6 separate regions of the Homo sapiens genome follow, and all the other regions are linked to region 3. The links are contacts of gene promoters, found by promoter capture Hi-C in human tissues and cell types (Jung and others, 2019). All regions are on one chromosome and are shown on one strand. The core of a region is centred on a gene start or on the middle of the fragment in contact, and the rest is flanking DNA. Distances in the headings are between cores, read along the strand shown.

Region 1 (2,700 bases), core at 172-2,671, 520 kb after region 3:
AGATGCTGTAACAAAATATCAACTTTGAATCCAGCCACATCTCCTTAGCCATGAATCTTAGTCTGTTAACCCTCACTTGGATTACGGCAAAAGCCTCAACTCTCATCTTATTTCCTCCTCTCTCAACCCCACAGTCTGTTCTCCACTGTACAGCCAGAGGAGACTACAGCCAGATGAAACTGTGGCAACATCACCTCCTCCCTCTGGTCAGTTTCACCTCTAAGCATTTCACATCCTGGTACTAACTCCTGGGTTAACCTTCCAAGTATGTTTATACTGGTTGACAGAAATGGGAATACCTCCATATATCCTGTGTCACAGACTTTGGATCCTGGGTTTAAGGTTCCTCCAGGGTTCCCATATCAAAAAACTTAAAAAAAAAAAAAAAAAGGTACCTAAGAATCCCAGGACATCCCAATCTAAAGAGCATGTGGATAGGAGTTAGGGCCAGTGAGGGAATAACACCCTCCGCTTCCCTGCGGAGGTTCTGCAAGTGCTTCTGCAGCCAGGAGTTCCTGAGAGGAGAGGCACAAGCTACAAGAATGTATCCCTGATGAGATTTGATAAGCTCAGGCCTCCCTGAACTCTTTCTTGGCCCTGTAACTAGGTAAACGCGAGTTGGTTGTCTGAACTGAGCGCCTCAGTACAAAATGTCATCTCTTAGCACCTATCTGATCTGTAGAGGTTGAACAAGAATTCAACCTCCCAGGGCCCAAAAGTCATCCCCTGTGTTCTTTTTCGACTGGACTTTGGGAAACCTTTAAAGCCTGGACATTGATCTTTTCCTTCCTTTGTTGGAAGCTGTCCATGGCTTCCAGCGTTCTCAGGGTGAATACACGGTCCTCAGCCTGCTCTTCCAGGAGGAGCTCTGCCTCACACTTTGCTCCCGACAGGTGCCTGTGGACCCTAGGTTACGATCCTCTCGGCTCAGTTCATCTCCAGGCCTTTGCCTGCACCGCTCCCTGTGCCTGTAGCTCTCCTGAGCGCATCCCGCGGGTGTCAAAAACGGGGGCCCATAGAGAGCGCCTCAGTGTCCCGACGCCGGGTTCAGGGTGTAAAACCTTGAGCAGGCGCCGCTTCCTCTCTGCTTTTGGACTTAGGTAAAGATGAGGTGACCTGAGGGCACGGAAGACGCCACAATTACCTGAGCCGGGGGCCTCAGCGCGGCCGCCGCCATCCGACTGGGTGGGGAAAGCGGGGTCGAAAGGAGGGGGCGAGCAGTGCAGGTACCCGGGCACGGTGGTCCCGATCCCGGCCTTGGTGCGGGTCACGCCTAGCGCCTTTAAGGAGCTGCAGAGCAGCCTCTGTGCAGTCGGGACAACGTCTCGTCTCCACCTTCTGGGTTCAGTCACTTCTACACGACCCAACACTCCGCGGTCTCTCACTGGAAAATACACCCAACACCAATCAAAATGGCCACTAGTAGAGGACGCCGGAAGTCCCACCTTTATACTGTTTCCGCGGAAACGCCTTTATTTTGAGCCCTCATTGGCTCTGACGCGCTGTCATTCGACGCAGAGATTTCTGGGTTATGTAGTTTCCTCAGGTTCCAAGACAGTTCCAAGGCGGTAAAGAAGGCCTTCTCAGAGGCGCTTGATTGCACAGAGTGGTGAATAAACACTACTCTGGCCTAAGTGTCATCTTCCCTCAATTTGACTATACTTCTGCATGTATCTATTTCATGTCTATTTTCTCCTTGAAAGTCTATATCCCCTGTCAAACTATGCTGTCAGGTATACCCTACCATCACGTTCACTTACTTGCAGGAAAGGCCCAGCTCCATCTCAGCGGCCTGTCCTTAAAGTGCATGTCCTTCTAGGGTAGAGGATAGTCTCACCTAGCCTTAGAACCCGTATTGAGATTTTTGGAGATTAGTGTCTGTAACTGATCACTCAAGTATTTGAAAAAATATTATTTTAGATTTTGGGGAACTCGAGCTCTCCGATGCTAAACTTATTATTTAGGATGCCCCCAAAGACTAAAAATCCAAATTATCATAACGTTTTGAACAGTCTTTCAGTCGCAAAATCCCGGTACTGGCAGCAGAGGCTGATAAACATTATTGTGTTATAAATTCACATGAATGCACTCTGAGGCATTAGAGTCAGTTTCTCAGTCTGTCAGGGACAAGAGAGAACTAATCCAGATAGGACAAGACAAGGAAGATAGAGGAGAAATGTTGTGTTCCCTAAAGCAGGAATACATGCTGAATCTCTGTCTGTGATTCCCACAGAAGACAACTCTCCTGCCTATAAAATCAATCATAGTGTCCAGTACATTGAGCAACACTTTTATCCACTTAGTATCCCTCGCTTGAGATTCCAACTTATATTCAATTAATTCTGGATTAATTTATCTAAGATTTATCAATCTTACAGGAAGACCAATGAAAGAAATGCTATTTTGGTAGTGATAAATGGCTGCAGTTTTCAAAGGTGGGGCACGTATGCAGAAGATGCTCTCCACCTGTTGATATTGGTTGTGTCTTAAATCCAGGAGTTCATGTTATTGCTGGGAAGTGGCTATTTTTTTTTTTTTGTATTAGATAAAACAGACTTTATTTATTTCTTTTCTTTTTTTTTTTTTGTGACTATTCTTTATTTCTGTTTCCATGGCAAGGAGTGTTTTGCCTAATAAATTAATGTTATGGATGGGATTACAGGCATGAGCCACCATACCTGGCTAATTTTGTATTTTTAG
Region 2 (2,700 bases), core at 201-2,700, 770 kb after region 3:
GGTTTCTGCCTGGGTGCAGTGGCTCAAGCCTGTAATCCCAACACTTTGGGAGGCCGAGGTGGGCAGATCACAAGAGCAGAATTCTGTCTCAAAAAAAAAAAAAAAAGAAAGAAAAAGAAAGACAATGTGGGTTTCCTTTTGGCAATCTGGCTGCCTGCTATATACTCCCCTGAAGACCATCCTGCTGAGAGCCCTCCCTTCTACTGGAGCAGTTGATCATCCCACCTGTGCTGATAGCTAGGGAAACTTAGGCACCAAAGGTGCTGCTCCACCAGCCTGGCTGACCTTTCCTTTTCTCCATATGGACTGGACATGAGGAACTACTAAGCCTGGAGTGGCAAACCTATATACTACCCAACACTGCGGTCTCCATCCAGTCCTGGGTGTTCATACTCTATAACCCTCCATTCCTGCAGGCACCAGACAAAATCACTTCGGACCACGAAACTCCAGGCTGTAGAGGCTGCCCCATCCTACAGGCCCATCTCTCCCTTCCCTCACCTCAGGGACCATCTGAAAGAAAACTTTAAGATTCTCCCTCCTAAATACGAGCCCCAGGCCTTCCAGCTGCTCATGTGGACATGACACCTCCACTCTGGGACATCTCAGGATCACCATGCCCAAAACCTATTCCCTGCACAGCCTTACCCATCTCCATCCTTCCTGATATTCAGGAACAAACAAAAATACAAATAAAAATCCAGAATGGCTCTTCATTCCCTACTTTCTTTCACAGTCACATCTGATGCAACAGGAATTCCCGTCTGTTCAGTTTTTGAAATCCATCCAAGATCTGATCACTTCCCCTCCTCTGTGGCCCAGTCCCAGTAGACTCTCCACTAGTCTACTGAATTTACCTACTCACAGGTCTGTCTTCACCCGCCTCACCCCCACCCCAGTCTGTTTTGACTTGAAGGGCCTTTGGCAAACTTTGAGAAACAGATCTTGTCACTCTTCTGTCTCCAGCCCTCCGCGGCCACTGTGGCCCCCTCAGGATGAAAGCGCAGCTGCTCGGGCTGTCGCTCGACACGCGCCTCGTCCCTTCCCAAGCTGCCCACTACAGACACCAGGAGGCCTCAGGTTCGGGACTCGCTGAATGCGCCTCACATCTTTGCGAGCCGGGCCCCTTGCCCTCCATTGCCACCCCATCACACTGCGTGTCAGAAACGGGACGCCGCCCACGAACGCCCCACAGTTCTGCACCCGGGGACCTGAGCAGGCGGCCCTCACAGGGCTTTAGGATTCGGGGGAGGCCGGGAGGACGCGGCGCTCACCTGAGCGGGGTCCCTCAGCGTGGCCGCCGCCATCGGAGCCTGTGGCGGTGAGACAACGACCGAGGAAAGGGCCCGGGCCACCCTGGGCGCCGCCACCGAGCCTCAGACCCGCCTCTGAGCTGCGAGAACACAGCGCGTCCCCACCGCGCTTTCCGGAGCTGGTCGCCGCAGCGAACAACCAGCTTCCGGCAAGCTGAGTTCTCTTGAGGGCAGCGAAAGCAACCGCCGAGGGGAGACGCCGGAAGTCCCGCCCATTGCGCGTCGCACTCTCGGGTAGACCTCTTTTCATTGGCCAAGCATCGCGGCTCACGGCGCGGCGCCTTCTGGGCAGTGTAGTTCGCGTGGCTCCAAACTTCGAGGAAGTGGGCATAACTTCGGAGATGGAGATTGGAGACGGTAGATGATGGAGATGGAGATGGAGATGGAGATGATGGAGATGATGGAGATGGAGATGATGGAGATAGAGATGATGATGGAGATGGAGATGATGGAAATGGAGATGATGAAGATGGAGATGATGGAGAAGATGGAGATGATGGAGAAGATGGAGATGATGGAGAAGATGGAGATGGAGATGATGGAGTAGGAGATGGAGATGGAGATGATGGAGATGATGGAGATGGAGATGATGGAGATAGAGATGATGATGGAGATAGAGATGATGATGGAGATGGAGATGATGGAGATGGAGATGATGGAGATAGAGATGATGATGGACATGGAGATGATGGAGATGGAGATGATGATGAAGATGGAGATGATGGAGAAGATGGAGATGGAGATGATGGAGTAGGAGATGGAGGAGAAATGAGTGTCGAGAACTCTCGGACTCATCTGGAACCTGTTGTAATTGGAGATGGGCCTGGATTTCAGTTTCCTGCAGCTGATACTCCAATCTTTCCTTCTTTTGAAGGACTTGAAGAGGATCTTCAGGGCCACCATAAAGAGGTTTCACTGGGCAAAGCCACGTATACCTTCCTAAATTTCCTTTGGCAAGGGGACACCCAATATTAATGCCTGATGTATGATAATAAGAAAAGGCTCTGAATTCTGGATGTAGGTGATGAGAGAGTAGGGGAGCCCAAGGATTTACGTTCCTCTTTCACCCCATTCTCATTTGTGTTCTTTCCTTCCTCAAGGACCCAACATTGGTGTAAAGGCACAACAACAGGCAGCAAACCCATAAGCCAACTCCCCCTCAATTTCTCCCCTTCATCCATTTCTGCTCCATATTCCTGTCACAGTTACTATGGGACTGAACGAAGGGGAACGAATGCAGAAATGAAAACAAAGGCAAAATAAATCTGTTTTAAAGAAGGGGTCAGGGGGCTTCTTGCTTCTAGTGAGGAAGGGCCCTGAGCTTCCACAGACCTTCATATTTATTGGGTAGAAAGAGTAGGGAGGTGGTGGCTTACGCCTGTAATCC
Region 3 (2,736 bases), core at 216-2,715:
GCTCATTGCAATCTCCAACTCCCGGGTTCCAGCGATTCTCCTGCTCAGCCTCCCAAGTAGCTGGCATTACAGGCACCCACCACCACGCCCAGATAATTTTTGCATTTTTAGTGGGGACAGGGTTTCACCATGTCGGCCAGGCTGGTCTTCAACTCCTGACCTCAAGTGATCCGCCCGCCTCGGCCTCCCAAAGTGCTGGGATTACAGGCATGAGCCACTGCGCCCAGCCTGCTCTTGCTTGATTTTTTAAATTGTCAGATCACTAATACAGAGACACCGAATCAAAAGGAGAGTAGGACAGTTGTTCATAATCCCACAAATCAAATGCTTACCTCCTCATGTACCATTGCTTCTCTCACCTATAGGCACACATTTGAAATAATTTGTTAGTTATCCAAATAAGAAGTGAACCACCAGGGAATTAAATGCTATGGGCTTAAAAGGGAAAGTACTCATCTCCTGCCCCAGTCACTCATCCTCTCAGCCTCCCGACATCACTTTTTTTTTGAGATAGGGTCTCACACTGTCACATAGGCTGGAGTGCAGTGATATAATAACAGCTAACTGCAGCCTCAACCTCCTGGGGTCAAAGAATCCTCCCAACTCAGCTTCCTGAGTAGCTGGGACTTCAGGTATGTGCTACTATGCCCGGCTAATTTTTGTATTTTTTGTAGAGACCAGGTCTCGCCATGTTGCCCAGGCTGGTCTCCAACTCTTAGGCTCAAGTGATCCACCTGCCTCAGCCTCCCAAAGCACTGGGATTACAGGTGTGCACCACCATATCCACTGCACCCACCTCCAGCCACTTTTAACCATATCTGTTCCAATTCTTCTTGAGGACACCTCCGTAATTCTAATCTTTGATCATCTTTAGTCTTTTTTTTTTTTTTTTTCCTGGAGACGGAGTCTGACTCTGTTGCCCAGGCTGGAGCACAGTGATGCAATCTCAGCTCACTGCAACCTCCACTTCCTGGGTTCAAACGATTCTCCTGCCTCAGCCTCCTGAGTAGCTGGGATTACAGGTGCCCACCACCACGCTGGGCTAATCTTTGTATTTTTAGTAGAGACAGAGTTTCACCATGTTGGCCAGGCTGGTCTCAAACTCCTGACCTCAGGTGATCCACCCACCTCAGCCTCCCAAAGTGCTGGGATTACAGGCATAAGCCACCGCATCCAGCCAATCATCTTTAGTTTTCACTAACTTCCTGCTCTGACAGGTGAGGATCTGACTCACATCCGCTGCCAATTCCTCTCATATTACATTTCAAGCTTTAATTTTCATCTTCTAAATAAACTTACATATCATGTTTAAAAGCCTACTTCCTAAAAGGATGGTAAGGGAAACCTCTACTCTCCACTACTACTTTCCCCATCTACTCTCCCACATCTGCAGGTGGGGCTGACATTGTCAGTGACAGGAATAATGACAACAGTGCCCTACCCTACGGCCACTATGAAGTTGTCAGGTCACAGCCATGTGTTACTTCCTAAAAATTAAAAGCCAATACAGGCCGGGTGCAATGGCTCATCCCTGTAATCCCAGCACTTTGGGATGCCAAGGTGGGCGGATCACAAGGTGAGGAGTTGGAGACCATCCTGACCAACATGGTGAAACCCTGTGTCTACTAAAAATACAAAAATTAGCTGGGCGTGGTGGCACGTGCCTGTAATCCCAGCTACTCAGGAGGCTGAGGCAGGAGAATTGCTTGAACCCGGGAGGCGGAGGTTACAGTGAGCCAAGATCGCGCCACTGCACTCCAGACTGGGCAACAGAGACTCCTTCTCAAAAAAAAAGAAAAAAAAAGCCAATACCTAGGGTTCACGTCACAGCTATGCAAATGCCATTCCCTGAAGGGTCAATCAACAATCTGACTGCATCTCCTCCTCCTTTATTCAAATTTCATGAGCTTTTTGCCCCCTCCAGCAAGAATTACTCACATCAGTGTCAAGTGAACACTACTTTCTAAAGTTACCTTCACATAGGAACTATAACCATCTAGCAGAATTTGTATAGTTTGAGCACAATTTACCTTGAAGCCTTCAATTAAAATTACCTTTTTTTTTAAGTTATGGGTGAATAAACATTCCTTTTCTTGCCCTATTCCTTTTCTAGATTAAAGCTATTCCTTTCTTAGATTCAAAACTATTTTCTCTAGAGAAGGTTCTGCCATGCCATTTGCTCTGTTTTGAGACAGAGTCTCATTCTGTCGCCCAGGCTGGAGTCCAGTGGCATGATCTAGACTCATTGCAACCTCTGCCTCCCAGGTTCAAGTGATACTCCTGCGTCAGCCTCCTGAGTAGCTGGGATTGCAGGCATTTATCACCACACTTGGCTAATTTTTGTATCTTTAGTAGAGACAGGGTTTCACCATCTTGGCCAGGCTGGTCTCAAACTCCTAACCTAGAGTGATCCACCTGCCTCGGTCTCCCAAAGTGCTGGGATTACAGGCGTGAGCCACCATGCCAGCCCTGCCATCTTTTTTTTTTTTTTTTTTTTTGAGACAGAGTCTCGCTTTGTCGCCCACGCTGGAGTGCAGTGGCACAATCTTAGCTCACTGCAACCTCCACCTCCTGGGTTCAAGCAATTCTCCTACCTCAGCCTCCCAAGTAGCTGGGATTACAGGTGTGAGCCACCATGCCCGACCCTGACATTTTTTTTGTTTGTTTTTTTTTGAGACAGAGTCTCGCTTTGTCGCCCAAGGCTGGAGTGCAGTGGCACAATCTTAGCTCACTGCA
Region 4 (2,700 bases), core at 141-2,640, 670 kb after region 3:
CAGTAGTCTCCTCTTTCCTCTTTGGTATTGCTACCAACTCCCTTAAACCCACAGTCTGTTGTCTGTGCTCAGCCACAGGAGCCTCATGAGGCCTGGGGAAGATCACCTCCCTCTTCTGCTCCAAATCTTCATTGCTGCCATCATCTCCAGAACAAAGACATCTGAGACAGCCATTTAGTTTCTAACTCCTGTACCTCTGCTCTCTGTTCCCATGAGAAGGAAATGAGACTTGAGGTTCTCTTAACCAGCTCAGCCTCACCTCCAAGCAGCTCCAAACACCTGTACTTATCTCTGGGACAAACTTCCACATTCATCCTATTATTTGCCAGCAACAGGCACCACCTCATATAATACTCACCCTGGACATATTTTTGTTCAGAGTCCCTAGGCTCAAGGCCTGGAAAAGCGGTAAGTAAAGAATCCCAGGTCACCACAGTCCCAATCCTAGAGATCCCATTGCTGGAATCAATGAGCTTCTGGATTTCCTCCACTTACCCTTGTAGGGTCTTCAAGTGCTTCTTACGGACCTGTAAGTACTAGTGGCAATCTGTGGGAGGAAACATGTTCTGAGAGGCAGGTGACCAAAGTGTGGCTCCATGGACTTCTGGTTCCAATGTGGAACACCAGAGCCAGGTGTCCAGGGATGACTGCTTTGTATCTGGGTGTCAGTCCTTGGTGCTGACTTTTACCAGCTTTGTGACCTCGTAAAAAGACTAGGTCCCTCCATGCCTGCTATCATCACTGCCCTTCCAGCGCGTTCCTCTGAACAGCTTTTGTGAAACTTTTAGAAGCGTGACTGGGGCCGTGCCCCTCTTCTGTCCTACGCGCTGTGGCCCTCAGTGTGCTGGTGAAACTCAGTGGGGCCAATGCAGCGCGGCGCTGCCCCACCCTCTGCTACCTGCACGCGTGAGGCCGGCCTGGGTCTCCCCAGCCTCCCGGCTCAGGCGCAGCTCCAAGCTGTTGCCCGCGCAGCCCCCTGACCGTGTCGCTCTCCCGCTCCCTGCCACACTACCAGAAACGAGATCCAGCACCAGCGCCTCACTGTGCCGGACAGTGCGGTCCGGGCTGCAGAAAACCCTTCACGCGTCCCTCAGTTTCGGGTGGGGAGGGCAGAGGAGGCCGGGAGGACGCAGCGCTCACCTGGGTCGGGGCCCTCAGTGCCGCCGCCATCGGACTCTGGGCGGAGCGGGCCGGGAGCGGTGGACGATCCGGGCGGAGACAAGAGCAAAGCTGTCACCACCGCCGGCGACCGTCAGGCCCCGGCTGTGCAGCTGAGAAAACGACTCTCCTCGCGCCTTCTCGCTGTCAGCACCTAGGTCCAGATCCGGCACCCGCGGATGGAACTGACACAAGCCAAAGTGCCCGCCACAGGGAGGACGCCGGAAGTTCCGCTCCGACAAGTTGGACAGAGCGGAAATGTCCCTCCCCTGAGCCTCATTGGCTCCACGCCAAGAACCTGGCTCACGGGCCTCTGGGTAATGTAGTTCTCACCGCTTCTTGGGCTGGCAGAGGTCGCCCTTCTCCTGGACCTCAGGGAGGAATGACCCCGTTGCTATGGAGAAAGGTGGAGGGGAAGGCTGAGAGGTGGTGTCTCCAGCCTCCTTGGACAAGGGAGGAGCTTCGCTGCTTTTTTAAGGTACCATACAGAGATTTTTGGAGGGTATTGTGTACAACTAGTCACCTAGGTAGTCAGAGTTATTCAGATACAAAATGCCTCTACCCTTGGCGAGAGCCTAGTAAACATTACCTTCTTTCTCCACACATTTATGTAAAGTAGAACGTTAGAGTCAGCTTTGTGAGTTTCATTATGCTCAGTAAGGAATAAGGGAAATAGAGTTTACATAGCGCCATGACAGGAATGATAAAACATCCGTTAGATCGCACCGAAGCTGGAGGACGAAAGAGGAATTTTGTCTCACAGAAAATGCCTCTCCTGCCTGTGTAATCGGTGAGTGTGTCTAGCCCTGTAAGGAACAGTGTTGTATTCATATAATATTTCTTCCTCCATATTCTTAGATATGCTTCTTTTAGGATTGTAGCAACTTTCTAAACAGAAGAGCCACTTAGCATATGCCATTTTAAAGTAGAACAGTGTCTGTAGTGTTCACAGTCAGAGCACTTGTGCAAAGGGGACATCAGAATACCAGAATAAAGGTTTGGGACACCTAGCTTTCATCTCTTTGATGGGAAATTTTGATCATTGATACTGTTACTGCAGGGACAGTGCTTGCATGGGGAGTTGAGATCATCTTAGAAAAACAGTTGTGAAATGAAAATTACTGAAACCTATTGTATTAGTCAGGATTCTCCAGAGAAACACAGAACCAATAGGATACATAGATGTACAAGAGGGGATTTATTATGGGACTTGGCTCATCCAGTTATGGAGGCTAAGAAGTCCCAGGATATACCTTTTGCAACCTGGTAAGACACGAAGGTGGGTGGTATCATTCAGTCTGCATCTGAAGGCCTGAAAACCAAGGGAGCCTATGGTGAAATTCCCAGTTGGAGGCTGAAGGCCTGAGAACTGGGTGAGGGTCATTCTTGTATGTTCCAGAGTCCAAAGGCCCAAGATCCAAGAACTTTAATGTTGGAAAACAGAAGGTGGATGATCCAGGGCAAGAAGAGAGTAACTTGCTCTTTCTCTGCCTTTTTGTTCTATCTTGGCTCTCAAAGCATTGGATGTTGGCCCCTAACACT
Region 5 (2,700 bases), core at 38-2,537, 710 kb after region 3:
AGAACTAGGCAAAGAAACCATAGGATAACAGAAAACCCAAAATAAGAGAAAGAATGGCCAAAATCCCAGTCAGGATGACATGTCCATGACTCTTCTGGGCAAAGCCAAATAAGAGAGAAAGGGGGCAGTAACCAGGTGGGTCCCTGAATTTCCCTCCTTTTCCAGAATACCTAATAATTATTCCACTCTCTAATTAAAGAAACACCCACAAAATAGGAATGCTGTGTGGTCACAGGAGAAGGGGGAAAACATCAAGCTGTTAAAATTAGCTACTCCAACAAGAAGACTGGGCTGATGAGACCTTAACAAACAGGATTGGGGCTAGGCTGTCCCATGACGCTAGATTTGACCCATTTCCTACCCCAGACCTAATTATACACTCATTGCCACATTAAATCACACACCCACCAGTGCCAGGCCAATCCAAGCACGCCCACATTTAGTATAAAAATGGTTGGCACCCCAATTCTAAGAAATTCCCACCTTTTCCTAGAAAAACCTCATGATTATCCCACCCCCTAATTAGAAGAGCCCATAAAATTAGAAACCCAAACTCCATTGTGCATGACCCGCTCTCCCTCGTACGTCCGCATTTCCCTCTTCTCTTGGGAAAAGTACACTCTTCTCAAAAATGTGTACTTTTTCTTCCCAATAAAAGCTTCTTGCCTTTGGCTTCATTTTGACTCATCCCTGCATTCTTTCTCACGATGGTGTCACGAAGCTGGACTCCGGAAGCGGGCGGGGACTCACGGCCCCTGGAGACCTTCCTGAGCCCTGGGCAACACCAGTCCACACAGAGGAGGCAGACGTCCCACAGACGGAACCCCACGAGCATGTCCCGGGAATGGCTCCACGCGGGAAGCGGGGGTCCAGATCCACGCCAGTCCCAGGGACAGTGCCTGGCGTCAGGGTGGAGGAGGACGCAGTAACCAGGCGTAAGATTTTACTGGTACATGGGAATGTCACTGGGTCACTCAGAGGAGGCAAGCGGGGAACCTCGTGGCAGGGCCCCCTTTATCAAACTCGTTTACCTGGGTGCCTGGGCGAGTGCTCACAGCCTGCTTGTAGGGACGTTGAGGCATCCGAATAATAGGAAGTTTTAAAAATTTACAATCCAGTGTGTACACTTGCTCCGCTAAGATCATCTGAGATATACAGAAACATGGTGTGCATAATAAAAAAGGAAAAAGAGCCAAGCCTGGCCTCTTACGGGACAAGACTACATTACCTAGAAGGCAGTGGGCCGGCGCAGGAAAAGGCGTGGCAGGCGACCGCGACACAGGGGCGGGACTTCCGGCCTCGCTGGCGTGGACGTTTGTGGTGGGGCGTGTTGGTCCGCGCTCTCAGAACTGTGCTGGGAAGGATGGTAGGGCGACTGGGGCTCACCTCCGCACCGTTGTAGGACCCGGGGTAGGGTTTTGAGCCCGTGGGAGCTGCCCCACGCGGCCTCGTCCTGCCAACGGTCGGATGGCGGAGACGAAGGACGCAGCGCAGGTGAGCAGACTGGCTCGGCTCCCCGCGGCCACCCGGCCTCAGTGTCCCGGGCCCGACGAGCGGAAGGACGGCGTTTCAGGGTCGTCCTCAGTGCAGTCCCTGCCGTTGCTTCTTAGAGGCCTAGAAGGGGGTCGCGCGGTCCCGGGTCCGGAATGCAGGCCCGCGGTGGCGTGGGGAGCGTCCCCGTTTCTGGGGTGCGCGGCGTTGTGGTATGAAATAGGGCTTTTAGGGTCCCGGAACCCCTCACAGGTGAGAGGAGCGACCGCAGTCCTCCTCGTGGCTCTTCCAACCATGTCCTTTCTCGGGCCTGCGACCTTGAACAAGTCCCGTTACTGTCCTCGTCCTTCATTTTTGCGCGCGCAAAGTAGAAATATTTACTCTTCCCCCCCCCGGGGTTGAGGAAGCTTGAACGGCTCCCTGGGTGATGTGTGTGTGTCCGTCTCAGTGCACAGCACGGTCCGGGGACGTCGCTCAGGATGTTGTTTCCGGAGCTGCTCCCTGGGCCTGTGCTAGGTTTGGAGACTCAACCCCAGCAGGAGTCTGACCCTCTGGCCTCCTTGGCCTCCTGTCTCTACAACACGAAGGGCAGCGGCTGAAAGAGGTGGGAGGAGCGTTTCTGCGGTTGCTGCTATGCCAGGGCAGAAAAGGTGGTAGGGCAGGCTGAGGAATTTGTCTTTCAGTTTAGGGCAAGGGACGCTGGGTTGCAACTAACAGTATATTTTCCTGTTTAAGACATTTAGTTACAGGTGAAAAACGAGTCCATTAAAATGTTCAGTGGCGATGGTATGCAGGATGTAGTGTCCCTTTGGAGATAACACATGAGGCCCAGGGTTACTCTCTAGCAGTCACTCTGATTACTTTCATGATAGCCCAGATTACTGTCAGCTCCTGTCGTAGTTGTTAATTTCTCATCCACCTCTCCCTCCTTTGCTTTATTTCTGACTCCCTCTGGTGTCCGCTGCTTAAAGAGGTCTCGTCTGTTGCACCGTTTAAAGCTGACCAGAGTCTCTTTGGTCTCCTTGCTCTGTTTTCTTGTCATCTGAATCTTTAAGGCCATCTGACATTGCCTTACTCATTTATTTAGTTGCCTGTTTAGGATCTTTTTCCAACCCTGGAATGTGAGTGCCTGTTGCTTCCCTCTCCCAAGACCCAGAACAGCCAGGCTTAAGTACATTTATTGTACTTAATAAATGGTTGATGATTGAA
Region 6 (2,700 bases), core at 116-2,615, 740 kb after region 3:
CTTTCTCTGGCTCCACATAGAGTGAACAGTTCGCCAAGTCTTCTGAATGGTGACTCTACACAGTGTCCCACCCTCAAATCCATCCTATGCAGTGTGTATTCCTTACACATTCCCTTTGGAAGTACCCCCGGAACCCCATGGCCCTCCTATCTGCAGGCAGCTTCGCCAAGGCCGACCCACACTTTCCCAGCCTCCAGCCTCAGCCCTCCCTCTCTTCATCTCAAAGTAAAACCTTAAGATTTCCCGTCTAAATTTAAGGCTTGGCTTGAGTCTACGCCCCAGCCTGTCTCCATTTACACATCACTGAGTCAGTCCCCTCCCATGAATTTTCTACTTATGATTCCAACTGCCCATGTAACAACTTCACTCTGTGGCAATTTAGAAACACCACGTCCAAAATTCAACTCCTACTATTTCCCTGAAACCTGCTCCCTCACCAGATTTCTTTGTCAACTCTTCCAGATGTTCAGGTAAAAGAAAAACTTGGGATCATACTTCACTCCCACTTTTGCTCATAGGCACAAATGATGGAGCAGAAAATCCTGCTGGCTTTACCTTTAAGATCTACCAAGATTCTTATTACTTAGGTCCCTTCAGCAACCCGTCTGGTCCAGAATCCACCATAATCCTCCTGGAGCCTACTACAGCAGTCTCCTCACCAGTATCCCTGCGTCCACCCCCATCACTCCGTAACAGTCTGTTTTCTCCACTCATTGCCTTTGAAATATTTTTTCAGACCCTCACTCAGATCGTGTTCTCCTTTAGTTCACAACCCTCCATGGCTCCCAAAGACTCAGAATTAAAAACCCCGGTTGCTCAGGCTGCCATGGCAGCCGTGCCTTCTTCTCCTCATTCTCTCTGCTCCCTGCAGACACAGGTCCGCCCCCAAGTTTCCGAATGCTCGCGACCCCGGCGCACCTCCCAGGCTCTGCGCGTGCAGCCCCCACGGTACGCAACGCTCTCCCTTCTTCACCTCACCGCCCGTCAGCTCTGAGGACCCCACCCAGAACTCCTCGCTGTCCTGGAGAAGAGGCCTGAACTGCAGAGACCCACGCAGGTGACCCCAGTCCGGGGCCTCAGGACCCAGGTGAGGATCCGAGGACTCCGCTCTCACCTGCGGCGTAATCACTAGCGCTGCCTCGGCCATGGGACTTTAGGCGGGGCGGGGCCTGGAAAGGCGGGCGGTAAAGCCCGGGATCCGGCGTGCGTGCGGTGGCAAATCGCTGGGCGACGCTCAGACCGAGACCAGGCAAGCTCCTCTGCGGGCGGACACCACCTCCACCGGTTTCCGGCTCCAGTTACCTGGCCCGGACCCAGCGAGCCGGAAACGCCCAGCCCGCGGACGCGCTCGCAGGCAGCAAAAACGACCACCACCGGAAAGACGCCGGAAGATTCTGGCGTATTGCGCACTTACGGAGGTGCCCCTTTCCTGGGCAATGATTGGTCTAAGGCCCCGGCACGCTCGGCGCACAGTATTCTGGGTGGTGTAGTTCCTACCACGCCGCAGTCCGCCGCGCTGTGAGGACTCAATCCAAGAAAGAGAGGACAAAGGAAAAAACCCATCAAACTAGGGTCAGCAAAGCCTATTACATACACAGGATAAAAGAATACGATTTGATCTTCATTTCTCAACACAAAAGTTGACATATATTGCATACAATACATTAAAAATGTTGACAATTGAGAATTGACGCGACCCTTAATTTTTTTCTTTTTTTTAATGTAGAAACTATAACCAAAAATAAAATTCAAAGGCCTCCCAACTATCTGAATGGACCCCCTCCTCTCAGCATTATAGAGTTAACCTGAAAATCTAGTTCAGGCCATTATGGAAGAAGGGGTTGGACATGCCTCATTCTACCCCTACAGCAATAACATCAGCATAGACCTTAAGTCTGATAAGAAACATTTACAATCTATTTCTCTGAAACTTGCTACCTGCAGGCTTCATCTGTATGATAAAACCTGGGTCTCCAACCAAGGTGATCACTAACAGTGGGGTCAGCATCCCCTTATCCCACACGTTTGTGTTTATTCTGTTTTTTTGCCCTCAAGTGTTAGTGACTTAAATTACATAATGTATCTATTATCATAAGTGGAACTGAAATGAGATTGCAGAAACATTATATCTTCTTTTTCTTTTCTTTTTTTCCTTTTTTTTTTTTGACAGAGTCTCACTCTGTCGCCCAGACTGGAGTACAGTGGTGCAATCTCTGCTCACTGTAACCTCCACCTCCCAGGTTCAAGCGATTCTCCTGCCTCAGCCTCCCGAGTAGCCGGGACTACAGGCATGCGCCACCACCCCCGGATAATTTTTGTATTTTTAGTAGAGACAGGGTTTCACCATGTTGGCCAGGCTGGTCTAGAACCGGCCTCAAGTGATTCGCCTGCCTTAAAGTGCTGGGATTACAAGCATGAGCCACCATGCCTGGCTTTTTTCCCCCATATTTAGCAATTAGCTTTTGTTGCTATCCATTGTCTTCATTTCTCTTTAGTTTTTAATTGTTTATAATTTTGACATTTTATAATTACTTAAGAAAGGTTAGAAAAATTACCATTTAGATTGGAGTCATATTAAATAAGACACCTATATTGTAAAAATATCTTTATGAATGTAATCTTTGGCTATAGTGTTGTAACCGAGCGAGTTATAGAGAAATGCCACACTCTGAGACTAATTCTGGAGTCCTTTTATTGCCA

What was found. The method cuts DNA at HindIII sites, captures the fragments that hold promoters and counts their contacts. A contact is called where the count stands out against the background at its distance.
Region 1: a contact is called between the fragment with the promoter of ZNF776 here and a fragment that was not itself captured in region 3, in 1 of the 25 tissues and cell types used here (small bowel).
Region 2: the fragment with the promoter of ZNF773 here is called in contact with a fragment that was not itself captured in region 3 in 2 of the 25 tissues and cell types used here (lymphoblastoid cells and spleen).
Region 4: the fragment with the promoter of ZNF530 here is called in contact with a fragment that was not itself captured in region 3 in 3 of the 25 tissues and cell types used here (adrenal gland, dorsolateral prefrontal cortex and spleen).
Region 5: the fragment with the promoter of ZNF550 here is called in contact with a fragment that was not itself captured in region 3 in 4 of the 25 tissues and cell types used here (dorsolateral prefrontal cortex, heart right ventricle, pancreas and 1 more).
Region 6: a contact is called between the fragment with the promoter of ZNF549 here and a fragment that was not itself captured in region 3, in 5 of the 25 tissues and cell types used here (IMR-90 fibroblasts, mesenchymal stem cells, pancreas and 2 more).

What each region holds. Positions count from the first base shown.
Region 1 is chr19:57,745,536-57,748,235 of GRCh38, reverse strand. It overlaps ZNF776 (zinc finger protein 776), which reads right to left and starts at 1,421. Exons shown (of 3, transcript NM_173632.4): 1 at 1,145-1,421. The coding sequence starts at 1,177. RefSeq lists an enhancer at 1,360-1,409. The HindIII fragment of the contact is 15,716 bases long and covers 1-2,700 here.
Region 2 is chr19:57,498,688-57,501,387 of GRCh38, reverse strand. It overlaps ZNF773 (zinc finger protein 773), which reads right to left and starts at 1,450. Exons shown (of 4, transcript NM_198542.3): 1 at 1,275-1,450. The coding sequence starts at 1,307. The HindIII fragment of the contact is 9,164 bases long and covers 1-2,700 here.
Region 3 is chr19:58,269,373-58,272,108 of GRCh38, reverse strand. The region is part of intron 1 of ZNF8-DT (ZNF8 divergent transcript); the gene reads left to right. It also overlaps a transcript of ZNF544 not described here. Among named protein-coding and RNA genes, the nearest start is that of ZNF8-DT, 8.0 kb to the left of the region's middle. The HindIII fragment of the contact is 7,344 bases long and covers 1-2,736 here.
Region 4 is chr19:57,598,575-57,601,274 of GRCh38, reverse strand. ZNF530 (zinc finger protein 530) reads right to left here and starts at 1,390. Exons shown (of 4, transcript NM_001321981.2): 1 at 1,141-1,390; 2 at 496-547. RefSeq lists enhancers at 923-1,042, 1,133-1,342. The HindIII fragment of the contact is 9,316 bases long and covers 1-2,700 here.
Region 5 is chr19:57,558,450-57,561,149 of GRCh38, reverse strand. ZNF550 (zinc finger protein 550) reads left to right here and starts at 1,287. Exons shown (of 4, transcript NM_001397372.1): 1 at 1,287-1,494. The coding sequence starts at 1,468. LOC124904781 (a long non-coding RNA gene) reads right to left here and starts at 1,208. Exons shown (of 2, transcript XR_007067357.1): 1 at 1,032-1,208. RefSeq lists enhancers at 926-1,035, 1-1,179, 1,666-1,715, 1,157-2,021, 2,166-2,245. The HindIII fragment of the contact is 8,093 bases long and covers 1-2,700 here.
Region 6 is chr19:57,526,021-57,528,720 of GRCh38, reverse strand. ZNF549 (zinc finger protein 549) reads right to left here and starts at 1,365. Exons shown (of 4, transcript NM_001199295.2): 1 at 1,115-1,365. The coding sequence starts at 1,147. The HindIII fragment of the contact is 19,998 bases long and covers 1-2,700 here.